3 separate regions of the Homo sapiens genome follow, and all the other regions are linked to region 2. Evidence: promoter capture Hi-C in human tissues and cell types (Jung and others, 2019). All regions are on one chromosome and are shown on one strand. Each heading gives the region's core, a stretch centred on a gene start or on the middle of the fragment in contact. The rest is flanking DNA. Distances are from core to core; before and after follow the strand shown.

Region 1 (3,372 bases), core at 13-2,512, 34 kb before region 2:
TAAGATAGTATCTCATTGTTAATCTGCTTTTCCCTGATCATTTGGAATATGCAACAGCTCTTCATATTCTTAAAGGCCATTTGTAATTTCCTCTTTTGTGGAGAGATGTTTTGTCATTAGTCTCCTTTTCTAAAAGGGTCATCTATCATTTTCTTGGTAGATTTTTTTTTTTTTGAATTTTAAAATATTCTGAACATCAGTTATCTTTTAGAAATAAATATTACAAATATCATCTATCTGAAGCTTGGCTTTATATTCTTTAAATCTTTTTTTATAAATAAATGTTATTAAAATTTATTGAAGATGTGGAAACATTGCTACCATGCAGCAGAACTTAATAAAGATTCCTGTAAGAAATTTTATATCTCATTCATCAGTATTTCTGAGGTTTTTGTTTTGTTCTGTTTTTGTTTTTATTTTTTGTTTAACCAATCTGTGCCCATAAATTTCTATAAATCTGTCCTATAAATTCATTTTTCTCTCCTGTTCAAATGCTTAAACATTTTTGTTTTCAGATAATTATTTTATATGTAAGTTAAAATGGCTTATTTGTAATATAAAAATATTTACTGTTTCAAGCCGCAATAAGGAACATGCTTTATTTGCTGAGCTGGCTGATAAGAATGAGGAAATTTGCAAGACTCTGGAGGTCGATGGATAACTGAATTATGTTATAAAAAGAAACCATGAAACAATGAAGGCTGGCTGACAGGTTCTAGAGTTTGAAAAGCTGTAGCTTTAAATGTTGGAGATGCCTGTAGGAAAGAGAAAGTTAGGTGAAAAGGGTGGAACAGAAAGTGCTTAGATTTTTATTAATTTCTGCTGTATGGCTACAGTGAATCTCCCAATAAAGTCTACATTGCAAGCTGTTGCTTCCTAGAATTGTATCTAATTTAGGGGAAAATGTGCAAAAATTTCTGAAGATGATGCATGATGGGCACAAGTAAGTACAAACGTGATCATGAGGACCCCATCACATCTGTGAAATCCACAATTCTAACATATCTACACAGTGCAATTTTCAAGTGCATTTTCAGTTAATTATAGAAAAATCATTTATTATTCTTTATGATATCATACTTTACAACGAAAAGTTAGCCCAATTATTTTAACTGTTTTTTCTCACTTTAATAACATTTATTTAAATTTTCTATGTGCCTTTTATTTCAGAAGTTGATATAGTCTTGCAGCAATATATTTATTAGAATAAATAAAGTGATATCATATTTTCAACATGCTATAATTCTCTAAATTGTGGCCATGTAAGAATTATGCCAGAATATATCCAAACTGGGTTAGTCATTTTTCTCTTTTTGCTACAACAAATTGATGTTATTGTTTAGATTTACATTAATAATAGAGAGAGTAAATTGCCATCTTGTGTTTACAAAGTAGGTTTTGTTTTATTTGACATATTTTAGCCATGCCCTTGGTTTTTCCTCTCACTAACATAATTTGGCTGGGGGAATCTAGTTTTTATTGTTTCCAGAAAAATGAATACTGGTAAGAATTGATAGTAATATTGATAATTGCCTGCCTTAAATGTTGACATGTATTACTGAAAAAAAAAACGAATACTGCACCCTCAGAAGGATACTACTGGTGATATTACTCACATTCAAAAACTGTATTTATTGCCGTATACCACTAGATTTTCTTCTCCTGCTTCATTCTCTGTTTTCTCTCCTGTAGTGTTAGAAAGTAATAAAATTCACTAGACTACTATTCTTGACAAACCAATCCTGCCCTGACAAAAGAAAGACCTTAGAATAAAACCAATCCTGCCCTGACAAAAGAAAGACATTAGAATAAAATTTCTATAAAAAGAATTTCAAGACTTCTACAATTTTGACTGCATGCAAAATTCACGTAACATTTACATTCACAAAGGTTGTCCACGTTGTTATTATCATGGGTGAGAACTAATCTAATTAGAAAGAGTGCCAATGCCCCTGCAGGTGGAGAAGGGGTAAGATGATTGACACAGAGATTTTGAGTGTCAAAAGTAGAGTGCTGATGTAATACTTTGTTTAGACTTTCAACAAAGGTTTTCAAAATCAAGAACTTTAGATGTTGTTAACTCAGACATTTTGTAAAATGACAGATAACTTATTCTGTGTGGGATCTTCTAACCAAAAAATTAATTTTTGCCTTTGGCTGGCTGTCAAGGGCTGATTAGGTAGTATAGAAGTTGAATAATAAAGGAGTTATTTTTTAAATAGAGGAATTTTTGTCTACCACGTTCCAGCAGGAAAAAGAAAAAGAGGACAGGCACGGTGGCTCACGCCTGTAATCCCAGCACTTTGGGAGGCCGAGGTGGGTGGATCATGAGGTCAGGAGTTCAAGAACAGCCTGTCCAGCATTGTGAAACCCCGTCTCTACTAAAAATACAAAAACCAAAAAAATTAGCCAGGCATGGTGGCGCATGCCTGTAATCCCAGCTACTCAGGAGGCTGAGGCAGGAAAATTGCTTGAATCTGGAAGGCGGTGGTTGCAGTGAGCTGAGATGCTGTCAGTGACTCCCAGGATGGAGTCACTGCATTCCAGCCTGGGCGACACAGCAAGACTCCCTCTCAAAAAAAAAAAAAAGAAAAGAAAAAGAAAATTCTACCCTATTGCAAGTGGGATTAAGGATTTTTTTTTTCCTAATGGATTACACAGGAAATCAGGCACAATGCTCTATAAACATGTAGGAAATGTGTTTTGAGCACCTCTATTATACAGTATGAACCGAGGACTTCAGGGAAATTCTTTATACATGCTGCCTTCCATGTGTCTATGGAAAAAAAAAAAAAAAAACCACAACCTAAAATTCCTGATAAGCATTGGTATCTCCTGTTGGAAAAGTTATTCTGCATTCAAGGAAGATGGCTTCAAGATTTTTTTACTTCTTCCATTAGCCTGGAGACAATGATTAGGTGACAATTATCTTTGTTCTTATTTCTCCTCAATTTCCTTATAAATTGGTGTGTAAGTTCAGCAAGCTTATTATTATTAATACTTGTTCTGTATATTTTACTGAATTATGGGAAATGTGTCACATAAGAGCAATATGCAGTGTGCACAGTTCTGCTGAATGTTTTTCCTGCCATCTGTCTCGATTCTTGTCTTTGCTTCTCCTACCTTGCTCTAATAATCAAGCAAATAAAGCAAACAGAGAAAGCAGCAGCAAACTCGGTAGTTTTTCTTTCATCCTCTTGTTGATAATGTTTATTTTGACATCAAATATCGTCAACACTAATACAGATTACTAGGAGGCAGTATGTTGTGCTGTGGGGGTAGAGGGCTTTGTAGCCAAGGGTTTGAATCCTGGCTTTGCCACTTACTCAGAAAAGTGGAATTAGACAAGTCATGTACTTCTCTGTGACTTAG
Region 2 (3,558 bases), core at 879-3,378:
CTGGGAACTTAATAGGCACGTAATGAATCAGATGTAATGAATCAGAAACTCGAAGGATAGGGCCCAGCAATCTGTGTTGTAACAAGCCCTTCTGGAGTGTCTCTTGTATGCTAAATTTAAGGGCCTAAACTAGAGAAACTGGTGCAGGTGGTAACTCTTCTCATGTGAATCGGCTCACCTAATGCCTCATGCAAAATTGCTACTTTAAACAGTCTTTCTCAGTTTTAATATATTATTTACACTCTTTGCAGTGAAGTTAGCAGTGATAATGTCAAGTTTTTCAGCTGAAATTTACTATGAAGACTGTATCTTCTTAACAAAATATCCTTTAACTCGTGATATTTTTTTCTGCCTCCCATTATCAAAGTTTTTCTTTCTGCGATACCTACCATGGGTTAGCCTTTAACTATGCTGTGTCAACTGTATGTGGGGATTATACTTACAATTAAAACTTGTATTTGACATACGAATGGGACTCAAGGAAATCAAAACTCTTCTTGGAAACAGTAGGAACATCTGAGCCAGTAATTAACAAACGTTGATTGCCAAGGAAATTCAAACCAAGGTTTAATAAGGAAGGAATTCTTGTAAAAATAGACATAATAGCTATATGTAAAAATAAGAATATCTCTCATGTATAAGGAATTTTTATGTTTTGTGTAGAATTCTAGAGAGTGAAAGTTATGAGTACTGATATATGATTAGTATGTTGAAGCTATTACAATATGAAGTTTGTCTGAAAATAGACTAGGCTATCCTGTGAGGTGAAGAGTTTCCTGTAGTTAGGGGTATTTAAGCCACATCAAATTGTGGGTCGATTGGGTGGTCTAGACCCTTCCTCCTCAAGTGTAGTACCATCTGGGAGTCATTAGAAGGGTAGAATTTCAGGTTTCACCCCATTCCTGGTGAATCAGTATCTACAACTTAACAAGATCCATGGATGATCTGTATGCACATTATGTCTGAGAAATAGTGCTCCAGTTGACATCTAATGAATTTTCGTATTATTTTTATACTTCTTATAGGATTGTGTTGTGTTGTAAAATTTAAATAACAGTCTAGAATAGAAGTTGGGTAAATACATGAGCTTTACCCCACTTTCCATTGTAAAGTCGCTAACTGAATTAAATACTTCCCTCAGAAACAAAGATTGTTTCTTGGATATTGTAGTTAATTTTAAGTGAACAGTTATTTACATACTAGTTCTTTGTTAACTTTGGACTCTTGGCGTTACACAAAAGTAAAACACGTCTTTTGGCTTTCGTGTAGCACACTCAGAATATTTTCAGTAACCCCCAAAATATATTCAGTGTTTAATCCTCCAATTCCTTCATGCATGTCCTCTTCATTTTCACCAAACCCAGCAGGATTCGTGACTCTCCCTCACAGAAACGTTCCCTTTCTGCTCAGAGTAGGTACTGATTTTGTCTCCTGCTTCCTCAGTCTGTATGAATGGACAGCAGCAACGGAAAGAAAAGAGGGTAGGTAAAGGGAGGTGGAGATATAAGGGGGACTGGAGCGCGATGGAGAGACCAGACTCTGCTCAAAGCTAAAATTTACTCGGGCAGGGAATACTTAACATACAATTCCCATTACCAAAACAATATGAATGAAGAAGAACTGAAGAGGTAATGAGAAATGACAGATGCCGCCACACCCTAGATTGGCTCAGGTCCCTACAACCATGACTACCATGCCCTGGCCCAGTGGGAAGAAAGCTGCTTAAAGAAATGACAAGCACAGAAGACCGGGGAGCCAAAAGGTGCCCAAGTCCGTTCCCATCCCCACCAGCGCAGGCTGACACAAGCGAAGGCTGTAGAGCCCATTGTGTGAAAGAAGCCCAGGCGGGGAAGCGTGTGCCCCCTTCCCACTTTGCCCATCCCTGGCCCTCGCCTTCGCAGGGGGCACTGGGAGCAGAGCGAGCCTCGGCAGCCCGGGAGCGGCTCTGGGGGAGACGAGTGTATCCGCGGGCGCGTGTGCGTGAGGAGGAGAGCAAAGACGTGATTACTTCAGAATTTATTTAAGGGCCGGTGGAAACCACTGCAGCAGCTTCCAGGGGAAGCCCTTGTTCCAGAGGAAGAGGAGGTGGTGGCTGCCAAGGAGGAGGAGGGGAGGAGACGGAGGAGGAGGAGTAGCAGCCACCGCACGAGGCAAGTGAGGAGAGAAGATGCTGTAGCGTCCTCACCGGCTGCCAGCAGGTTGGTTCTTCCGGCCAATTGAAGCAAGCAAAGAGGCTTGCAGAAAGGCCGGGAGGAGAAAAATGGGTGTGTGTGCTGTGGCGGCGGGGGGGCGGCGGGGGGGAGGGAAGGGGGGCCGGGGGACGGCGTGGGGTGATGTTTGCCTTTCCAGAGAAAAAGCGCCTCCTTTAAGTGAAACGAGACACGGGAGCGCGCGGAAACAGGCTGGGGGCCAGGAGGAGACCTGTCCTGCTTTTTGCATCCCTAGGGACTCGTTTTCCTTTAGGTTTCTAACTCCCAGGGTTAGCCTTAAACTCCAGAGGGGCTCCAGGAGGGGAGACTGGGTGGAGAACTTCTCTCCCAGATACTTCTCACGCCTTTTCTCCAAGCTTTCTTTTGGAGGGACGCCCCACACACCCCGGGTGGCCCGGGCGCGGAGGGGGAGCGGCGCCGCGTGGTTAAGTTTCTGAAAGTCAAACCCAGTCCCCGGTCTCCGGTCTCCGCCCCGGGGCTCCAGCTGCACGCGGGGAGCTGCGGCTGTTCTGGCAAAGGGGCCGCGGCTGCTTTAAGAGCCGCCTCCCCCTCTCCTCCTTTGACAATGGTCTGAACCGAGCTTTGCTTCCCAAAGCAAAATTTGTAATATGCCATTTTTCCGATGGACGCTTCTCCTTTTGGCTGCTGACGGAGCCACGGGAAGATGCCGAGCTCCTGCCACGCCACCGGGCCGGGGCACGTTCCGGGAGGGCGCCGGGGCACGCGTGTGTCTGAGCTGCCTTTCTCCTCCCGTTGCTAGGGAAATGGTCCAGGAGTGCTGGGTGTGAGCCTCCCTTCTCCTCAAGCCGGAGACTGCGGTTGTCATTGATCAATTGAAGAAGCAAGGACCCGAAATCACAGACATTAGGTACAGAAGCTGTCTTTGAGTTTTACTGTCTCCTTTCGCTGTATTTTTTGACCACCTCCCCGGCCCCACCCCGCCCCCAGGGAAGATGAGATGCAAATTCCTCCTTGTTGATTACCGTTAGGTGCCTTTTGCTTTCACCTCATCCTCTCCATCTCCTATCTCTCTACCTCCTGCCTACTTGGCTGTGTCCTGTTGGGCAGGATGAACAATTTTAGTGTGGAAATGATGAAGTCAACTTCTTCAAGGTGGTGGGGGGTGTGGCTGAGAGATAACTGTCCAGTAGTGTGGGTTGAGCTGGCTCTGGCTGTCCGTAAATGCACTAGGGTAAAGAAAGTGTAAAATGTGTCCATTAAAGGTGATAATCATATTTCCCGAGGACAGAGGCTTTCAAAGAGTTAAATAGGAGGGAGAATATTCATGTAATGTAATCAGACAATGGCTAGGATTTCTCTCACTGAATTACTCCTTGTAGGTTAACTG
Region 3 (3,616 bases), core at 255-2,754, 41 kb after region 2:
TTCCTAATTAAAGAATCCTGTTGAGAGCAAGTGTTTCTGCACAGAAGAGAGTAACAATTAGGGAGTTGCTTTTATTTGAAATTTAAAACCTGGGCAGATGTAGGCCATGCTTCTTCACCAATTATATTACAGGTAATTTCACAAGAATTTACACTTGACCTCTTAAGGTAGGGAATGCCAGACTATGTTTAAATTACATTTTTTTTTAAATTTACTAACTCTAAATGCAGATAGAATGGACACAATTTTACAGGTAAATTTACTAACTCTAAATACAGATAGAATGGATATAATTTATTAATAAGACAAACATAACTCTTTAACTGTAAGCAAATGGAATAAATGTTCCCTTACACTGAAATATTCTATATATTTTTAAAAGCTTATTTATGTAAATTAAGCTAAGTATGTCATGATGTTATTTATCAGCAATATGTTGCTTTTTTAAGGTCAGTGAACTTAAACAACACATTTTGAAATGTATTTGTTTCACCTAGATATTAGAATATGTATATATTATTGAAATTTCAGGAAATAACTGAATTTTTCATCTGTGATCTTTTTAAGATGTATGCTTCAATGCTGTTTTAATTATAGATTTAATTAAACTAAGATATATAAAGATGTTCAGTTAAAACTTTTTAATTCCTCCAAATGCTTCACTTTGGCTTAAATTTCTTTTTGATGTCATTGGTAGTTCAACATATTTAAAAGGAGGAAGAAGAAGTATGACACAGGAGATGAAAATTAGGCTTCTGTTTCAAGGACATCTCCTCCGTCAGGGGTAATCATCACCCCAGAGAACTTTTTAATAGCAAAGAATCAGGAAGCAGAATTAAGATCAGAACTTGCATATAGGAGAATTGACATCAGAGCTAGGATATGGACCATTTAAGGTAGAGCTGGAAATGTAAGAAATTCTCTTTCAAGAAAACAAGATATGGCTTTGCATTGGAACATAAAAATATTTTTGAATTATTAGAAACATTGGGTATAGTTACTATACATTGAACAACACCAACAACAGAGGGCTGAACCCACTAATAAATATTTCTATGAAGTCCAGTACTAACATGAAGTGGAATATTTCTTTCAAACTAATAGAAGTCACAAGATACCACTATTGTTAATGGGAATTCATATGCAATGTTATTTTTAAATTGCTTTATAACTACTTAATGATTATCTTCCAAGAATAGTTTTTTGTTCTTTATTTGTCAATTTAAACATAAAATATTTTGCATTGGATTTGGTGGAAATAACAATTTATGGAGCTATAGTCATCTTGGCAGTAGCTGACCACTGCATGTAAAGAAAATACAGCTCACTTGCTTGAAATTATTATCACTATTTCCCTTTCCCAACGTGCTGAAATTACAGCTAGAATAAATGCCAAGCCAACGTCAGACAGTGAGCATGCATCCTCTGTGCATCAGCCAGCTGTCTCTCATCCTCTCACAGTTTTGCCATTGATGGGATGACATTAAGATTCAGGACTTAAACAAATGAACATAATCTGTAGAAACTGTTCAAATATTTATAGCAGCATTTTCTTCAAATGTATTAAATGGGAAGTCACTTTCCATACATTTTAGAACTCTATCCTTGTCTTTTATCTTCAAAGAGATTTTCCACTGTACAAATCTCTAAAATTGAGAAGTTAGACCAGATGGTTTTTGAGAGCCCGTCTGGGTTCTACAAGTATAATGCACATACTTGTAGCACTTGGTGCTTTTGTTTCTTAGGGTAAAAGCTGAACACATTACAATGTTCTTCAAGGCCCTATGTAATCTGTCATGACCCCTTTCATCTAGCTTCAGTTTCTACCTCTCCACTCATCCTTAACACTTCAGCCACATCCCACTTCTCACACATTCTAGAACATTCTAAGGCTAGTTCTGTCTTGATTTAAAACTCCTCTTCCCTCAGATAACTGAATGACTGGGACTCAGTTTCCTCAGTTCTCTTCTGAAATTTCACATTATCACAGAGGACTTCCTTGGCCACTTGATGTAAAAGAGTAATCAATCCCTCTACCTATATCTTTCTCTGTCTTCCTCTAGCCACAAAGCCATGTCACTACCTGACATATTAAAAATGTTTAATATTTATATTTATTATTTGTCACCCTTCTGTAGTGGATGATGTTAGTTTTATGCCCAGATCTCTCTAATGACCACTCAGGAATGTTCCTGTCTCCCTTGGAAGCATTACCCTCAGGCCAAATAGGAGGTGCCTCTCCAGTGAGGGACAGGAGTACAAAAGTCCAGCCCCCTTGCCTCAGAGTACAGCTAACTGTGGTACAGTTTCTACTTCAGATTTTCTCCATGGGATCAATTTGACGGTAGTCTGAAGCTAAGTCCATATTCTTGTTTAGGTTTTTTTTTATGTTTTGCCTTGTCCTTCTTCCCCATTCCCCTCCTCCTGAGAGCACTTTGCCATTGCATCACATATACAAGAATCCACATCTCAGATTCTCCTTACATGGAGCTTGTCCTAAGACACAATCCTGAAAGGTAAGCTTCTTGAGGTTAATTTGTTTCTTTCATTCACTATTGTTTTCCTAGCACCCAGGACAGTGCCTGGCATATATTGGTGCTCAATTAAGTAATTTTGAATGACTATATTAGTTTTGAAGGCCCTAACTATTTTAGGAAGAGCAGCACACTGGTTTATTTGAGCTCTCATTATGCTTCTGGGTGAAGATAGTCATATAAACAAATAACAAAGGAAAATAAGTACACCCAGCACCTTTACCCTCTTCACTTGCAAGCATCTTACAATTCAATTAAAAAGAGGCTCATTAATATAAAGGTACTATTATTATCCACCAGTGTTGGATTTCCTGCAGTTCTATGATGATTTAGGCCTGAAGCTAGCAAACTATGATCTATGGGCCAAATCTGGACATCACCCATAAGATAAGAACACTTGTTACATTTTTAAAGGGTTGAAAAGAACAAAAGAAGAACACTGTTTCATGCCACATCAAAATTATATGAAATGCAAATTTCAGCATCCATAAAGTTGTATTGGAACTCAGCCATAATCATTCATTTATATAATGTGTATGACTGCTTTCTTGGTACAAAAGCAAATTTGAATAGTTGCAACAGAGAGTATGTAGCCTACATAGACTAAAATATTTGCTATCTGGCCCACTACAGAAAAAGCTTGCTGACCCCAGATTAAACTCCCATGTTGTCCCACTATCTCATGGATTCTTACAATTACATTACTTCAGATCATGAAATGTCTTTAGTTCAACAAGGCCTATGATGCCATACCTTGTCATTTTTTTTTTCTGACTTATTCTATTCAGAAAAATCTTTTTTCTTTCCTGGTGGGAACTTCCTTTTTTCTGGTTACCAGCTGCTGCTTGTCTAGCTGGTAACATTTATTTATCCAAAGCATTCGCACCTCTTTCTGAGCACATTTGCTGTCTTACCTAGGAAGACATTTTTAGCACAAATCTGCTAACAGAAGTAATAATTTTAAAAAGTGAAATACATGAAAATGTAACAAAAGCTTCCAAGAAGTTTTTCTGACTTCACAGGTGTAAGTCCAGTAACAAAACTACGTTTAAAGCATCACTTCTAACATGCATTTTTAGGCA

What was found. Contacts are between HindIII fragments. The study calls those that stand out against the background at their distance.
Region 1: a fragment that was not itself captured here is called in contact with the fragment with the promoter of PPFIA2 in region 2 in 1 of the 25 tissues and cell types used here (lymphoblastoid cells).
Region 3: a contact is called between a fragment that was not itself captured here and the fragment with the promoter of PPFIA2 in region 2, in 1 of the 25 tissues and cell types used here (H1 embryonic stem cells).

Annotation. Positions count from the first base shown.
Region 1 is chr12:81,791,435-81,794,806 of GRCh38, reverse strand. No RefSeq gene overlaps it. Among named protein-coding and RNA genes, the nearest start is that of PPFIA2, 34 kb to the right of the region's middle. The HindIII fragment of the contact is 5,936 bases long and covers 1-3,372 here.
Region 2 is chr12:81,757,920-81,761,477 of GRCh38, reverse strand. It overlaps PPFIA2 (PPFI scaffold protein A2), which reads left to right and starts at 2,128. Exons shown (of 33, transcript NM_003625.5): 1 at 2,128-2,198; 2 at 2,971-3,078. RefSeq lists an enhancer at 2,330-3,268. The HindIII fragment of the contact is 8,978 bases long and covers 1-3,135 here.
Region 3 is chr12:81,716,637-81,720,252 of GRCh38, reverse strand. The region is part of intron 3 of PPFIA2 (PPFI scaffold protein A2); the gene reads left to right. Among named protein-coding and RNA genes, the nearest start is that of PPFIA2, 41 kb to the left of the region's middle. The HindIII fragment of the contact is 3,695 bases long and covers 1-3,351 here.